Regions from separate parts of the Homo sapiens genome. Here region 2 is linked to region 1. The links are contacts of gene promoters, found by promoter capture Hi-C in blood cells and fetal thymus (Javierre and others, 2016). All regions are on one chromosome and are shown on one strand. Each heading gives the region's core, a stretch centred on a gene start or on the middle of the fragment in contact. The rest is flanking DNA. Distances are from core to core; before and after follow the strand shown.

Region 1 (5,658 bases), core at 2,221-4,720:
ACTTCATCTAGTATATCTTCCCATTTAATGAATTACTTACCAATAAACATTTTAGTATACACGTTTAATATTCATCTTAAATATTTGCCAGTGTGAACAGTATCTACCTTAATTTTCAAATCCTAGAGTACTGGTTCCCATCCTATGGGCAAGAAACCCATAGAGAGATAGGAGTAACTGCAAAGAATCATCAAAATCCATATACTTACCTAAAGACTAAATAAATGTGATTCACAAACATATATGTTTCCAAGCTGACAAAGATACTGTGGCTAATAAAAATCTTAATAAATTTCCTGAAGAATGTTGGTAAAAGTAGAGCAGTTTCTTCTCATCAGTATTTATTGATGAATACTAAAAATCTAACTCCTAATATGGGAGAAGGGCCATCGCTCGTACCTCTCTAGATTTTCTAGAGAGCTTTTCTTTTTTAAAGTGTTGCCCATATGTCACTCAGAACAGGAGGAGTAGGATGTGCTTGAATTTGAGTGCAAAGATTTAAGACAACATTGGGAGAGATGGAGCAGGAGTAATTGGGAAAGTGCATGAAATTACTTCAAAACAGCAACTTCAGAATGCTGGGTGCTTAAATATCATTCAAGCACCAAAGGGAAAAAATTCAAAGGACAGAGCCCTCTGCATCTTTATAATGGCAAGTAGAAATATATTCACAGGAATTTTGATCAAAAGAGCCAAACTTATCCTAGAGTAAAAATACATCTTGGTTACAACACCTACCTAAATGTTTTATTAGGGTTCTATCACCCTTTTAAATTAATCTTGTACCTTTATTAAACATTTTCTACATTTTAACATTAATAGTGCAGTTTTTCAAAGGCGCCCTACACATTTATTGGATTATTCTGTGCTGGATGCTAGATAAAGTTAAAAAAAAAAAAAAAAAGACGTACACTAATTTAAAACAAAGAAAACTTGCTTCAGCAAAACACTACAATAGCAATAGACTTTGCACCTAGCACAATTCCTTGTAAATAGGGGGCACGTGATCTCTGCTGAATAAATGAGTCCATTTCTCCTTACTCCGAAAAATAACCCTGGCAAGCATGTAAAATATCCTACCAGTCTGAAAAATATTCTCCAGTCCTATTCAGCTACCAATCCATTCTCAGAACCCATCAAGAGCAATTTTCATGAAAGCCTCACTCACACGCACAAAGAGGCAGCATTTAATTCCCATTAGGCTCACTGCCTGATCTACGGAGATATAAGCATTTGCACATTTGCATAAATTCAGGAGACATCCTTCATTTGATATAAGGTAAATCTTAAAGCTTCGCTTCATTTCCAAATAAGTTTTATTTTTCAAATCAAAAATATTTTTAAAGTTTTATTTTTCAAATCATAATCCTAATCATAGTACATTATATCTTATTAGGGATGCTTTTAAGAAAAAAAAATATAGCTGTCAAAATTAAAATCTTGTTTTTTCATTTCTAGACATCTGGGACATTTCACTTATATATTTATTATTATTTCACATTAGTTCTCAAAGTTAAAAAAAAAAGCTGGCCTATTTCCTTTAAGAAATTTAATTTTAGGGTCTGTCAACATTTTGAATGCATTACTGTTATTTTTAAAATACACACTTGCATACTGGAATAAAACTTAGCATAAGCTTTCCATATAACCATTTCCTGGGCACTTACTAACTTACTATATGCCAGGCTCTATGCTTAACACATTACTCCATTATCTCATTTGTTTAACAAATATCCTCTCATAATTTTTGCAGCACTGAACATAACAAGAAGACATTGCACTATAAAACTGGTATTTGTACTGGATACCAGAACTAAATTGACAGTAACGCCTAACACAAGTTTATTGTTATTAAATTCAAGTTGTGTTACTGTATTAACACAGAATCTGATCAGCAATGTTGAGATGTAGAGAATACCATCTGTGGTAGCATCAACAGAGAAAGCTATTATTAAGTGACTACTTAAGTTACATTCCCTTCTATAGGTAACAGATGAACATAATCTTATCTACCCAGAAATTTAATTCCAATCACTACATGCCATTTTGAAGAACATAAACGTAACCTACATAAAATGACTATATAAAGAACCCTTGCTTCCTTCTGAAAATGCTTCAAAATTCTAGATTAAATTCTCCCCCAAAGTATCATGCTCAGCATGTCATAAAGAAAGGTGCCTTTATTGTCAACTCTTGAAAATAAATGCTGCCCTACTTTTTTTTACTCTTGAATTTCAGTCTCAACAGATGGGCAATTCCAGTTTAAAAAAAAAGAAGAAGAAAAGAAAAACACACACACAATAATTAATGAAGTTCTTCAACAGTTCCCTAAAACCAACATCCTCCCAATAGCAAATTGTATTTCCAAGTTGTTCCAAGAAAGGGACACAGGAAAGGGAAGGGAAGAGTCTATACAAAGGAAAACAAAAATGAGTGACTTGAAAGAAAGGACATCAGAAAAATGGGTGGCCTCAACAGGAACCTATAGTGTCTGACTCTGCTGCTGTCTGTCGAATTTAATTCTACCACCTAAGAGTTTTGAGACGAGAACCACAATACTATTTCGGTGGTAGGAAAAACTATGCGTTGCCCCTGAATGGAGCTGCAACAGTAAAGGATGCCACCCTGCCAGGTAAGGACAGAATGAGGAGGAACTGTCAAACGGTTATGAAAGTCCCTTGCAAAACACACAAGCGGCTCTAACTGCCTTGCACCAGACAGACCCTCAAGTACAGGATCACGGGGCCTCCCCGCGATGTGACAGGGAAATAACGGGCGGCCTCGCGGTCCCCAGGCCTGGCTGCTATCCTCAGGGGTCGGCCTCCCCTCTCAGGTCTCAAGTCAAAGGTCACATCCTCTGAGATGCCCTCCCGGATCACCTAACCTAAAGAGCCTCGCCCCCATTCCTCTAGCCCGCAACTGCCTGTCCCGTTTCTAAGAAAGCATTTCCGTATCCGCAAAACATCGCAGCTGCGTGTGTTGTTTCCCTTCTACAGAGTGAGCTCTGCGGGGCAGGGGCCTCGCCTGCGCTGTTCACCCGGAGCCCCGCCTGACAGAACCGGCTTCCCGGTGAGGCCCGAGGCGGCGTTTGCGAGCTCGGCCGCGACACCACGCGCGTCCAGAACGTGGAGCTCAGATGGGGGCCGGCCTGGCCAGTCCAGGCATCCCCGGGGGCGCCTGCGGGGCCTGAACGAGACAAGGAAGGAGCGGACGCCCGCGCAGGCGGAAGCCACGCGGCGGAGCGCGGTCCCGCGGGGCGACCGAGGCTGACGGCGACTCCCGCACCCCGGTGGACCCACAGGCCGCCCGGAAGGCCCAGTGCCGGCCCCAGCCCCGGCCGCCCGCCTCCGCGCCCCCGGCTCGGCGCGCGAGTCCTCGAGCCGTGTCGCCTGCGGCCTCCCTACCCTAAGCCGCAGACCCGTCGCGTTCTGCCCAGTACGAACTTCCCGCCGCTTTCGCCGACTCGTAACTCGGCAGCGGCGCCGGCCCCTTCGCACCCTGCAGTATGGAGCCTTCCCATTGGCTCGGAGGCGACGAGGAGGGGCGGGACGAGTGGTAACGCGAGGCGCGGGGCGGAGGCTACGCTAGCCCCGCGCCTCCCCGGGAATGCCGGGAGCTGTGGTCCAGCGCTCCCAAGGCATCCTGGGAGTTGGAGTCTCTTAGCGGCAAAGGGAGATCCCCGTCCTTCTGCTCCCTGGTCTTCTAGGAAATGTGGTTTACAGCCTTGTTCGTAGTAGCTTGATTTATTAAGTGTATTGGCAGAGAGTTGGGTGTAAAATAAGTTTCCTGTTTCTGTTAGGATTAAATGAAATAATCTATAGGCAGTACTTTAAACTTAGTTGGTGCTCAATAAATAGCAGATAGTGTTAGTATTATTCTGCCCACTCATTGATATGTGTCTAAATCCTACCTGTTTTTCGAAGCCTATTTCAAAGCATATCTCAATGTCTACCTAATCATCTATAGTGTTTCATCTGTAATCAACGTATGCCACAGTTTGCATTGTGTTTATTATTTATTTTTATTTATTTATTTTTTTGAGACGGAGTCTCACTCTGTCGCCCAGGCTGGAGTACAGTGGCACAGTCTCGGCTCACTGCAAGCTCCGTCTCCCGGGTTCACGCCATTCTCCTGCCTCAGCCTCCCGAGTAGCTGGGACTACAGGCGCTCGCCATCACGCCCAGCTAATTTTTTTCTGTTTTTAGTAGAGACGGGGTTTCACCGTGTTAGCCAGGATGGTCTCGATCTCCTGACCTTGTGATCCGCCCGCCTTGGCCTCGCCAAGTGCTGGGATTACAGGCGTGAGCCACCGCGCCCGGCCGCATTGTGTTTATTATAATCAGCTAAGTCTCCATCACCCATGAGGCTGAGAGCTTATTGGGCACTGGGTCATTGTTCTAGGTCAAAATCACTGAAGTCACAGGCAGAGGGAGATTAACAATGAAGCCAATGAAGCGTAAGCTTCAGGACCTCACTTGCGCAGGTCCCTCAATGAGTTTACATAGCTTTGGGGGTTTATTTGTCGATTTTACTTTTCTTTTTCTTTTTTTTAAAGATATAGTCTCACTTTGTCACCCAGGCTGCAATGCATTGGCGCGATCTCGGTTCACTGCAGCCACGACCTCCTGGGCTCAAGCAATCCTCCCACCTCAACCCTCCGAGTAGCTGGGATTACACGCACAGGCCACCACTTCTGGCTAATTTTTGTATTTTTTGTAGAGACAGGGTTTGACCATGTTGCCCAGGCTGGTCTTGAACTCCTGAGCTCAAACAATCCACCCCGCCTCAGCCTCCCAAAGTGCTAGAATTACAGGCATGAGCCACCACACCCAGCTGATTTTTCTTAAAGTAGATCCCCCAAAATTATGTGAGCTTCAGTCCCTACAAAACCTGGAATCACTCTGTCCATTAGACAGGGCAATATTGTGCCTGATGTCTTACATTTTCCCCTCCAGATACCCTCATCTGCTCCAAATACTTCTCCTGCCTGCCCTCTGCCCCAGGAGGCTGACCTCTACAAATTACTTCGCGCTCCCTGTGCCCCCTGGCTTTGGGGCGTGCCCAGTGGAGAACCCCACAGAAGATTGGAGGAAAAAGAAAGGTTGGTTAGAGTAGGTTAAGCCCCTGGATCCTGACTGGCAAGGTCACCTCCAGTTGGCAGGTCCCTCAGCTGAAGGTCACTGCTCCCTGGCCCTCCCTCCAGTTTGCGGTAGTAGCCCTTCCCTTTGTGCCTCAGGTCTGGAAGTGATGACATCACGGCTGCTGCTGACCCACAAGTTACTGCATCCTCCCTCGTGGTTCCTACCCCCAACACCGTTGTAAATAGTCTCATTGCAAATAACCTTCCTCAAATTACCCTATTTGGAATTATGTCATCTGCTTCCTGTTGAGACCCTAACAGAGCATGGGCAAGGTGAGCACTCGATAAAATCTGTCAGCAAAAAAGTCTCAAGATTCACACATCTCATGGGTGTGGAATCCCCCAGCAAGACTCTGTGGCCAGAATCCACTGAGAGAAAGACACACACACCCACACCCACACCCACACAAATACACACATATGTTAAGAAAACTTGGAACAGGACTTATCTGTCATAGTGTGACCATGTTCCCCTAACCTCACAATAGACACGTGAAGAAACATCCCTGTTTCCACAC
Region 2 (5,658 bases), core at 589-3,088, 1.3 Mb after region 1:
CAGCGCCTAAGGGATAGGAAAAGCTTAGTAGGGGGTGACACTTGAACTGAGTTTTGAGAGAAGGGTAAAGTGCTTCTATATAAAAAGGAGGGACATTCCAGGAAGAGGGAGCAACCAGGGCAAAGGCACAGAGGCCCCTGGGTCCACTGGGAGAATGCCAGGCCGTTTCTTGAGAAATGCAGGACTGGACATAGCTGAGGGGAGGACAGATGGTAAGGGACTGGGCTCTCCTCCTCTGGATGAGGGAGAGTCCCAGGAGGAGTGTAAGCTGCAGAGTGCTTGAGAGATCACCCTTGCGGGAGTGTTGATGGATTGGAGGTGGCCGAGCTAACGGGGCCACTTAGGAGAGGGTCATCAGATTTAACCTTTGCAGGTATTGGGGTGGGGGCATGGGGGAAGGGCACTGCTGCAAGCTGAGTTCTTTGAAGGTAGGGATGACAGCATTTGGTGACTGGCTGACTGTGGGGAGGGGGCTGGGAGGAAGAGGGGAAGATTCAGGCTTATTCCTAGGGTTTTGCTTAGCCACTGACTGCACTTGATGATGCAGGGAATACAGCGGGAGGGGGAAGGAGGATTGGAAAGGTAAGTTCAGGAATTACTTTTGGACATTTCTGTTTCCAGGTGCCTGAGGAACATCTAAATCATCAGGTTATGTCTGAAATAAAGGGAGAGAGTATGCAGATTATTGCCTCTACGGGTCTGGATCTATTGATAAAGGAGATTTGGGCGGGTGGGGGGGCAAGAAGGAGTGCAGAGAAGAAAACCTGGGGAACGCATATCGCTGGGGAGGGACAGGCCATGAGGAGAACTAGGAGCAAGTGCTTTAGGGAAGAGGAATTTACCAGAAGCCACAGAGGGCCTGAGCATGAGGGCTCACACCTGTAGTCCCAGAGCTTTGGGAGGCCGAGGCAGGAGGATTGCTTGAGGCCACATGCTCTAGACTAGTCTGGGCAACATAGTGAGGCCCCATCTCTAGAAAAAGTTTTAAGTTAGTTGGGAGCAGTGGTGTGTGCCTATAGTCCTAGCTACTTGGGAGGCTGAGGTGGAAAGATAACTTTAGCCAAGGAGTTCTAGCCTGCAGTGAACTATGATAGTACCACTGCACTCCAGCCTGGGCAACAGAGCAAGGCTGTCTCTTAAAAAAAAAAAGGAAGCCACAGAGAGAGGCCAGGTAAGGACCCAGGGTCTCGTGGATTTTGCAATGGAGGTAAACACAGTGTGGGCTGATGCAATCAGTGTTTGCTGCCCTTGGGCGCTTCGCTTCACCTCTAAGGGGCTCTGCAACGTGATAGAGTTGGGCCAGTGAATTTGTCAGGTGTCTTCTGGCTGTTACTTTTGTCTGTGTGTGAACCTTTGTTTTAGGCCATTTCTGTAGTTAGTGAACAGAGCAGATAGAGTCCAGTCATTTTGCAGAAATGTTTCCATTTGGATGATGAAACAAGCTTGATTGCTGAAGCTGGTGCACTCATCCCATTGGCATGGTGCTAGCCGAGACCTTTGAAATACCTGAGGACACCTCTTGCCTGTTTATAGAGGTTGCTTCTGTCTGCTGAATAGGGCTTTGTAATTAACCAGGAGGTGCATTTAGCGACACTGGCCATTTTTCTCTGCATACCAAGTCTACAACATCAAAGAAGAAATTTAGGATGAAAGTTCTTTAAAATCTTAGGCCAGGTGCTGCAGCTATTGCCATTGCAAGGACCTGCGGCAGTCCTGTTGGAAAATGTTTGTTCTGCATGTGTTCCATGCCAGTTGTTGGCAATAAGATTCTAAGGTTTTGGAACTAGACTACTGCAATGAAACAACTTTCTCTGTTAGGGAAGTGTCCTGGGCTGTCAAGAATTATCATCAAGAGCAGCAGGTTTTATAAGATACATGGACCTATTTGGCATTTACCAGCCCATGCCGCTAGGATAGAGGGACAGGGCTGGGCCCCAAGTGTGGGCTTCCCGGAAGAGCCAAGCACCGGCTGCTCATATGGGATGGGTGGGGGTGGTGCAGGTGCCCTGCATGGGTTCCACTGCCCTAAAGAGGGTACAAAGGCCACACCTCCGTGTGTCTGCCAGGGCTGGGTTCAGAGCCTCCCTGGCTTCCTGGGCACTCTGCCTATCACACAGCGATTCCAATATGATCACATGTTCAGAACAGCCACACTTGTCAAAGCAAGGAGAGAACACTTCAGCAACGTTCAAAAACATGTCTCCAGGGATTAAAAAAAAAACACGGAAAGCTTCATTTTCCTCCCTAGTGGGGAAGTCTTCCTTACTCACAGCCTCTTCCTGAGTTGGTGTCTGTCGTGAAGCATTCTTTGGAAGCATAGTAAGCGGAGGGTTTAATTTACCATAGTCGTACACATTTGCACAGAATCTAAAGTTTGCAGTGCGTTTCATCATCTTTATGTGAATCTCATGCAGCTCTTACAGGGAAAACAGGAAGAACTGGCCCCATTTTCTAAATGTGGAGACAGGAGGAGGTGAGATGGCTCGCCTCTGCCCAGCCGACTGGGAAATGCAGAGCTCAGAGAGACAGCAAGTCAGGAGATGTTGATCCAGGGAGCTTTTCACTCTGCCACCCACCCCATCGATGGAAGCACCGACATTATCAAGGCTGCATTTAGATTTCAAAACAAAAGCAAGCAAACATGCCGGGCTCGTGGTATGCTGTTGTTTTAACCGAAATGATACAGCTGAAAGGGTGAGCAGCCATCAGTGCTGTGAGCGAAGCGTGATCACACATCTTGTATGTTTAGCAACTCAGGAGGTAGCTGAGCCTGGAAGTGACTTTCCTGGTATGTAGCAATTCAGAGAATACAAAACCACATTCATTATCTGAAATGGGCTCAGCTGCTTCTGTGTTTTATCATATAGAGCTGGGAACTTTGATGTGTGTGGTGTGTGCGTGTTTTGCTGCATATACAGATAATCACACAACTGGAGGCTTCAGCCTTGCTGTTTACACACACACACACACACACACCCCAGCAGATACATCACACACAGACTTCTCACCTGTTACGTTACTAACAGTGGTGCTGGTTTGTTTGAACAGTGTTTGAACTTATCAATAACCTTCCTCCAGAAGGCTCAGCATAGCTATAGCATATGCTGTGTGTGGAAAATATAACCTAAGAAACAGAATGGAATTGAATCATGACCACTATTGCTATGAGACAGAATCCACAGCGATGGAGTGGGTGCTGGGGTCAGACTGCCTGAGTGTGTACCCTAGGTGAGTCACATAATAGCTGGGTGAATGGCCAAGTTTTCACCTTTTTTCCCTCATTTGGAAAATGGGATGATAATAGGAGCTATCCTGAAGGGTGATGATGAGGGTTAAATTAACAATATAGGTAAAGGCTTAGAACAGTGTGTGGCAGATGGTAGGTAAGCCCTTAATAAATATAAAATATCATTATTTGTGTCCATCATTTGAGATATATCTCACATCTTATCCAGAGGACTCCCCAAACACTCGTGTTGTCACTTCTCTTTCCTGTCTCTGGGTTCCTCTACAAGTCAGTTTTGTACCATGCAGTCTCGCATTTGATGACATGCAGCATTACTTAGTTCTGTGAATGATTCGTGTGTCTTAATGTCACTTCCCCAACAGACTGTAAATTTCTTGATGGCAAGAACCATGTAACTGGTTTTTGTTAGATTTCTGCAACTCAAGACCCAATCCTGGGCAACTGTTGGACACTTAAACATCCTTCATCACTAGCTGCGTTCATCACTAGGAAAAAGTAAGAGAAATCTGATGGTATGGGATTGTAAGTGGGTATTAGATCCAACAGCTGAAACTTAAGATGTGAAGATGTATATTGACACACATGTGCGTACAAAATGTTTATAGCAGCTTTATTGATAATAGCCAAAAACCAGGAACAACCCGGATGTCCTTCAACAAGGGAAGGGTGACCCAGCCCGTGATGCATCCGTCACACTGTGGATTGCTGCTCAGCAACGAGGAGGCACAGACTCGATACGGGAGCCAGCCTGGGTGACGCTCCAGAGAACTACCCTGAGTGGAGAAGGGCAGTCCCACCGTGTGATTCCATTATTATCACATTCTTGAAATGACAGAATTATAGAAAGGAGAACAGAGGAGTGGCTGCCAGAGTTTAAGGAGGGAATGGGGAAAGGGGGAAGAGCAGCATGCGGGATCCTTGTGACGGAAGCGTTTTGTGTCGTGTGGGTGTCTGTCAGTTTCCTAGCTGTGATACTGTACCATTGTCTTGTAAGATGCTGCCATCGGTGGAAACTGGGTAAAGCATATAGGGGACCTCTCTGTATGATTTCTTACAACTGCATGTGAATTTACAGTGGTCTCAAAATAAAGCATTTAATTAAACAAAAAACCCACATGCATTTAAAGTAGTCCCAACAGAAGCAGAAAGAATAGACCAGGCTTCCCACTGTTGGGAGAAACGAGAAACATGGCAGACCTCTTCCAGAAGAATTTTGTATATTTTCTTTGTTTTCTGTTTTTGTTTTTTCTTTTCTTTTCTTTTTTTTTTTTGAGATGGAGTCTCACTTTGTCACCCAGGCTGGAGTGCCGTGGCCTGATCTCAGCTTACTGCAACCTCTGCCTCCTGGGTGCAAGCAATTCGTCTACCTCAGCCTCCTGAGTAGCTGGGATTACAGGCACCCACCACCATGCCCGACTAATTTTTTTTTGTATTTTTAGTAGAGATGGGGTTTCACCATGTTGGCCAGTCTGGTCTTGAACTCCTGACCTCAGGTGATCAACCCTCCTCGGCCTCCCAAAGTGCTGGGATTACAGGCATGAGCCACCGCACCCAGCCAGATTTTATTTTTTAGGAATAAAATTTATCAATTTTCCTTTAACACTTTTGTTTATCTTAGTATTTATTCCTTGGAGTATAATAGTAGTGGTGTTTAGTTATGTTAAATGATGATTGTTTAATACAAACAAGATCTTCTTTTTTCAAAAAGATATATAATGGAGAGAGAGAGAGACAGGGTCTCACTCTGTCACCCAGGCTGGAATGTAGTGGTGCAATCATGGCTCACTGCAGCCTTGACCTCCCAGGCCTAGGCAATCCTCCTGCCTCAGCTCCAAGTAGCTGAAACCAGGCATGCACCACCCTGCCTGGATAATTTTATTTATTTATCTGTAGAGACGGGGTCTCACCATGTTGCCCAGACTTGTCTTGAACTCCTGGGCTCAAGCGACCCTCCCACGCTGGCCTCCCAAAGTGCTGGGATTACAGGAGTGAGCCACTGTACCTGGCCAGCCAATACAATATATATATGTATGCGTGTGTGTGTATATATATATATATATATATATATATATATATACACACATACACACAATATATCATAATGTATTATGTATATTACATTACATATATTACATTGTATATAATACTGTGTGTGTGTATATATATATTTCTTATAGTTACTTAAATTGGGGGAATAATTTAGAGAAAATCTTTTTTAATTCTCTCATTTCACAGATTCAAAAACTTAGAAGTGACCCAAGGTTACACAGCTAGTTAGCAGCCTTAACAAGAGTTAGAACCCCATCATCCGAGAATCCAGTCCTGTATGTTATATATAATTGTATTTTATAAATGCAGTACAATTAAATGTATGTAGAGGAATATTCCAAGTTACTCCAGTTCCCCTGCTT

The links. Contacts are between HindIII fragments. The CHiCAGO score rates a contact against its expected background, and 5 or more counts as called.
Region 2: a contact is called between a fragment that was not itself captured here and the fragment with the promoter of VRK1 in region 1, in 1 of 17 cell types (erythroblasts). The highest score is 5.5, in erythroblasts.

The regions. Positions count from the first base shown.
Region 1 is chr14:96,795,194-96,800,851 of GRCh38, reverse strand. It overlaps VRK1 (VRK serine/threonine kinase 1), which reads right to left and starts at 3,470. Exons shown (of 13, transcript NM_003384.3): 1 at 3,405-3,470. RefSeq lists an enhancer at 2,613-3,144 and silencers at 3,089-3,378, 3,389-3,588. The HindIII fragment of the contact is 2,825 bases long and covers 1,639-4,463 here.
Region 2 is chr14:95,520,636-95,526,293 of GRCh38, reverse strand. No RefSeq gene overlaps it. Among named protein-coding and RNA genes, the nearest start is that of SYNE3, 6.8 kb to the right of the region's middle. RefSeq lists a cis regulatory region at 1,783-2,185 and an enhancer at 2,208-2,502. The HindIII fragment of the contact is 788 bases long and covers 1,445-2,232 here.